Linked DNA regions of Homo sapiens: region 1 is linked to region 2. The links are contacts of gene promoters, found by promoter capture Hi-C in human tissues and cell types (Jung and others, 2019). All regions are on one chromosome and are shown on one strand. Each heading gives the region's core, a stretch centred on a gene start or on the middle of the fragment in contact. The rest is flanking DNA. Distances are from core to core; before and after follow the strand shown.

What was found. Contacts are between HindIII fragments. The study calls those that stand out against the background at their distance.
Region 1: a fragment that was not itself captured here is called in contact with the fragment with the promoter of IL31RA in region 2 in 3 of the 25 tissues and cell types used here (IMR-90 fibroblasts, stomach and thymus).

Annotation. Positions count from the first base shown.
Region 1 is chr5:55,786,509-55,789,768 of GRCh38, forward strand. It overlaps DDX4 (DEAD-box helicase 4), which reads left to right. Exons shown (of 22, transcript NM_024415.3): 14 at 10-162; 15 at 1,338-1,492. Among named protein-coding and RNA genes, the nearest start is that of DDX4, 50 kb to the left of the region's middle. The HindIII fragment of the contact is 6,379 bases long and covers 1-3,260 here.
Region 2 is chr5:55,849,898-55,852,907 of GRCh38, forward strand. IL31RA (interleukin 31 receptor A) reads left to right here and starts at 1,460. Exons shown (of 15, transcript NM_139017.7): 1 at 1,460-1,736. The coding sequence starts at 1,674. The HindIII fragment of the contact is 16,782 bases long and covers 1-3,010 here.

The sequences.
Region 1 (3,260 bases), core at 308-2,807, 63 kb before region 2:
AATTTTCAGACTTTTGAAGAAGCTAATCTCTGTCAGACACTGAATAACAACATTGCTAAAGCTGGTTATACTAAGCTTACTCCTGTGCAAAAATACAGTATTCCTATCATACTTGCAGGACGAGATTTGATGGCTTGCGCTCAAACAGGGTCTGGGAAGACTGTAAGTCTTTCCCCACATGTCCAAACTGTTAGGTTTTTTGAGCTTTGGTTCTTCCTTAGTAACTTGGTTTCTTCTTTTGAGTAGAAGGTTTGTAGATGGTTTCAGTTACCTGTCATAAGTATTGATGGTTTTGCTTCTGATTTTTATTAGGATTTGTGTACTTCGGAAGAAAGAATTCTGAACTATTCCTGGGGTGGTGTTGCTGTCCATAGATGTTTAATCTTTTCTGTGTGCAGCTCTTTCTGAAACATGGTAGTATCTTAAACAAAGTGACTGAAAGTCAAAGCAGAGCTTATAAAACAGAGAGGGAGAAAGTAATTTCTGTATTATAGCTGGTACACTCGAAGTCAAAAGATTAAAGAATGAGAAACAGTTATGCATTGTGCATGATTCCTTAGTATTCAGTGACCTCAGGTTATGCTAATTATAAAAGAAGTCTGATGAAACCAGTTGGTTTTAGGACTAATCTGGGAGATTTGTGTGTTAATTAACGACTCCATAAGATGAGACTCTTATTTCTATGATCATAGAGTCCATGAGGTCATACCATTTTAGTCTTAATCAGCCTTCATAGTAGAATTGTAGGGAAAAACAGGTATTGTATAGCAGCTGATGAGAGTGTTAAACGTGGTTTTGGAGGTGGATTTTAGCAAGTGTCTTATTTGCTTAAATGAGAAAACTGTAGCACAAAATTTCTGTTGCCAGATGTAACTTCAATAAGGGTAATGTGTTCAGTAATACAGATGATGATTTCTAAGTTTTTACTCTGTGGGCCACTTTTGTCATCCATTCTGAATGATAATTTTATGACCTCAAAAGGACTAACTTAGAGTAATTGTTCACTGTAATGATTTGCAGCGATTACATCTATCATATTCCTCTATAAATATGCTAATGTTGTTGATCTGTTTAGAATTCGTGGGTATGCTTTTGAAAATACACTGAAAAACTTTGATAGGTTAGATTAATTTTACCAAATTTTATATTGTATAATAAGAGCATAAAGACATAAATGTTAAGAACACCTTGAAATGAAAGTTGTTTTCATTTCTCATCTTAAATTTACCAGTAAGATGGAAGTAGAGTCTAAAGGCTATAAGGACATGAGGATTAGCTTTCCATAGGGATAAAAGTGTTGTGCTATAAGTTTGTAAACTAAGCAACTTAACTTCTAGGCGGCTTTTCTCCTACCAATTTTGGCTCATATGATGCATGATGGAATAACTGCCAGTCGTTTTAAAGAGTTGCAGGAACCAGAGTGTATTATTGTAGCACCAACTCGAGAATTGGTCAACCAGATTTATTTGGAAGCCAGAAAATTTTCTTTTGGGTAAGTACATCAGAGTGCTACTCACAAAATAGTTTTTTCTTTAGAGATTTTTTTCCCCTCACTTTTGGAAGAACTCAGTAATAATGCACTCATGTAATTTTTAGCATTACTTAAAGTATTTTTTTATTATCTTGTTTATGGAATCCTTTTCATTTTTGAAAAGAAATATGCTTATTAAAAATTAGGTTAATAGGTTGGACTTGGTGGCTCATGACTATAATCCCAGTGCTTTGTGAGGCCCAGGCAGGCAGACTGCTTGAGGCCAGGAGTTCGAGACCAGCCAGGGTAACATGGCAAGACCCCATCTCTACAAAAAATAAAATAACTAGCCAGCATGTGGTGATGCACACCTGTTGTCCTAGGAGTTTAGGAGGTTGAGGCAGAAGGATTGTTTGAGTCCAGGAGTTTGAGGCTGCAGTGAACTGTGATTGCACCACCACACTCAGAGCGAGACCCTGTCTCCAAAAAAGTAAAATTTTAATTTAAAAAACAGATAATACTAGAAGTAGAAAATAGTGAACATACTGGTATTATTTCTTGGTAGTTTTTAATGTATATTTAAAAATGAACTCAGGGTATTCTAATAATTTCCTATTCTTTTACATAAAACTTTATAACACAGAAAATTCTTATTTCATAATAAGAACTGATTTTTAATGACTTTTAAATTGCCCATGTGTATACATTTTATTTCTCTGTTCTGAGGTATTTAGGTTCTTTCTAACTTGGGGCTATTGTAAACAAAATTGCAATGTACATCTTGCTACATAGTTTTTCTGTTTTGGCCAGATATGATGTCTTACACCTGTAATCCTAGCACTTTGGGAGGCCAAGATGGGCAGATAGCTTGAGCCCAGGAGTTCAAGACCAGCCTGGAAAACATGGTGAAAACCCATCTCTACAAAAAAGAACAAAAACTAGCTAGGTGCAGTGGTGCACCCCTGTAGTCCCAGCTACTTGGGAGCCTGAGAGATTACCTGAGCCTGGGAGGTCGAGGCTGCAGTGAGCTGTGATTGCGCCACTGCATTCCAGCCTAGATGACAGTGAGACCTTGACTTATATATAAAAAAAACCAACAGTTTTCTGTTTTAAGTATTTTCTTAGAATAGAGTTTTATCAATTTTAATGTTAAAGAGCAGGAACTTATTTTAAAGCTTGTAATTAATGTATATTTGTGCCTGCAGTCTATCAGAAGTCCAATTTCAGTATACCCTTTGCCAACATTTAGTTATCGCTGCCTAACAAACTCCCTTAAAACATAGTTGCTTTCAACAATAAACATTTACTGTCTCACCATTTTGGGGGCTTAGGAATTGGGGAACAGCTTGGCTTAGCTGGGTCCTTCTGAGTTAAGAGTTTCTTATGAGATTGTAAACGAGATGTCAACCAATTCTGGTTTTATTGTCAACCAGACAAGATGTCAAGGCAGTCATCTGAGGGCTTCATTGGATCTCTCCATAGGGATGCATGATTAAATGGCACTGGCTTCCCCTAGATTAAGTGATCAGTAAGAACAAAGAGGAGGCTGTAATAGCTTTTATGAAATAGTCCCAGAAGTCACACATTGTCCTTCTGCCACATTCTCTTTGTAAGAAGCAAGTCACTAAGTTTGACCCCACTCAGGAGTGGCTATATTATAATTTATTGGAACTAGTGCAAAATTGAAAGTGCAGGGTCCTTTGTTGTAAAATTATTACAAATTTCAAGGCAGCGACAACAGAGCATTAAATGAAACACGGGATTCTTCTGAACTTGGGACTCTGTGTGA
Region 2 (3,010 bases), core at 210-2,709:
TCACATGGGAGATAAAGTTCTTGAAACTTGGCATGTTGGAAAATGCAGTTTCAAGAACGTTGTTTTACCTTTCTTTCTGATGGATCATTTGGATGGGTAGAGCATCCTAGGTGAGAAATAATTTTCCAATAGAGTTATAAAGGAATTGATCCATTGCTTTCTAACTTCTGGTTTTGTTATTAAGTCTAAAGCCATTCTCATCCTTGATCCTTTGTATGTGACTTATTTTTTTCCTATCTGGAAACATTTTTTTTCTGTTTATTCTTGATATTCTGAAACTTCACTGTTTTGTACTTCAGTGTAGATTTATTTTCATTTATTATGCTGTTTACAGTGGGCCCTTTCAATCTGGAAACAAATGTTCCTCAATTCTTGGGAATTTTATTGTATCACTTCTCTCATTATTTCTTTCCCTCCATTCCTCTGTTCTGTGCTTCTGTACTGCTGGTAGTCAGATGTTGGCTATTCTTCATCTCTTTGTCTTTTCTTCTATCTTCTGGAAGATTTCCTCAACTTTATTTTCTAGTCTTTAGACTTCAGCTCTCATATTTTGAATCTCCAAGAGTTCTTGTTCTCTAATTATGCCTTTATCATAGCATCCTATTCATATTTTGTGGGTACAACATTTTTTCTTATTTTCTATGAAGGTTTAACTAATATTTCTTTTAAAAAATATTCTGCTTTCTGCATTGCCTTTCTTTCAAGTTTTTTCCCCCCATCTGCTGTTGGGATGGGAGAAATTTAATGAATTTGGCTTTGTGGGGTTAGGATTAGGTAGTCTATTTCTTTTTCAGATTTTCAACCAATCTTATGATTTTTGTTTCAGAGGTATAGTCAATTCTCATTATTCCTTCATTATTCCTGGCAATTATGTTCAATAAAATCGCCACAAACACTGAATTAGAAAATACTGCTGAGCGTGGTGGCTCATGCCTGTAATCCCAGCACTTTGGGAGGCCGAGGCAGGTGGATCACCTGAGGTCAGGAGTTTGAGACCAGCCTGAACAACATGGAGAAACCCCGTCTCTACTAAAAATACAAAATCAGCTGGGCTTGGTGGCGCATGCCTGTAATCCCAGCTACATGGGAGGCTGGCCTGAGGCAGGAGAATCACTTCAACCCGGGAGGTGGAGGTTGCGGTGAGCTGAGATGGCGCAATTGCACTCCAGCCTAAGCAACAAGAGCGAAACTCTGTCTCAGAAGAAAAAAAAAAAGAAAAAAAGAAAATACTGAATTATTCTCTGTGGGGGAAATATAGAGTTAGGTGCCTGTGAGCCTCTGGTCACAACATTTTTGTCAGCTAATCAATACATAACCTTGTTTTGTGTGTGTTTCTGTTTAAAGACACCTTATTTAATATACATTGTTGATTCATCAACATTGAACTCATGGCTAATAACAGTACTATGACTCATGCCTGAATAGAGCTTATTTAACACACATATTTTCTCCATGAGGCACAGCCTCCTTCTGCTTAGGAACACCAGACAGCACTCCAGCACTCTGCTTGGGGGGCATTCGAAACAGCAAAATCACTCATAAAAGGCAAAAAATTGCAAAAAAAAATAGTAATAACCAGCATGGCACTAAATAGACCATGAAAAGACATGTGTGTGCAGTATGAAAATTGAGACAGGAAGGCAGAGTGTCAGCTTGTTCCACCTCAGCTGGGAATGTGCATCAGGCAACTCAAGTTTTTCACCACGGCATGTGTCTGTGAATGTCCGCAAAACATTGTGAGTATTGATTTGGGGGGTTACAAATAATTCCTAGCAAGTAGGTGAATTCACAAATAAGGAAGCTGTGAGTAATGAGGGTTGATTTTACCTACCTAGTGTCTCAAATCCTGAGCCGTATGAGATTCCGTGGCATAATTATGTTTGCTTATTGTTGGCAACCTTATTAGGCATTTCTAGGTTTCTGCTTTCTCATCTTTACCAGTTCAGTTATGGCTTGATTCATTTCTCTTTTTCCAAAGATTTGTTGACATCTCTTATTTGCTGTTGCCTCTTCCCATTTGTTTTGTCTTGTGGTTCTATATCTTTGCCATAATTTTTGTGGAGTTTCCTGAGAGAGTAGAGATAAATGTATATGCTCAATTGGTCTTGTCTTAACCAGAATTCTATTTAATACACAACACCTTTAGTGAGCTGTTATGCATGTAATAGGTGTTTACTAAGTATTGGTTGAATAAATTCAAGAAATGCTTGCTATTTTTGTGCTAGCATTTAGCTTTTCTCTATAGTATATTATAATGGAATTTTATTTTATTTTATTTTATTTATTTTTTGAGACAGAGTTTCACTCTTGTCGCCAGGTTGGAGTACAATGGCACGATCTTGGCTCACTGCAACCTCTGCCTCCCGGGTTCAAGCGATTCTCCTGCCTCAGCCTCCCGAGTAGCTGGGATTACAGGTGCCTGCCACCATGCCTGACTAATTTTTTTGTATTTTTAGTAGAGATGGGGTTTTGCCATGTTGGTCAGGCTGGTCTCAAACTCCTGACATCAGGTGATCCACCTGCCTCAGCCTCCCAAAGTGCTGGGATTACAGGCGTGAGCCACCACGCCTGGCTGGAATTTTAAATATCTCATAATTATAATCTTCTAGGTAAAAGACTAGCTCTCTTTCTCACCCTTATTCCTCCTACTTAGTGGAACATTGCCTAAGGAAGATGGGGAATGGGTTAAAAATTAAAATGTGGGGCTGGAAAGCATAGCTTGTTTTAAAACTTAGTTTTCTTTCCTTTTGCATCATAATCTCTTCCCCGGTCTATTTATTTCTCGTGGTTTTGTCAGTCCATTACAAACGGTTGCAAAATTGTGGTACTAGAAGGGATCCTAGAAATAATCTAATTTGAACCTTTGATTGCTAGGAAACTGAGAGTCAGGCTGCCTTGGTTCAAGTCTTGGCTCCACCACCCATGTAGGACATGTTGCTTACTGTTTTGACCTCAGTTTCCTTGCCTATAAAGTGGGAATAAAAATACTCCTGATGTTATAGGATTGTTG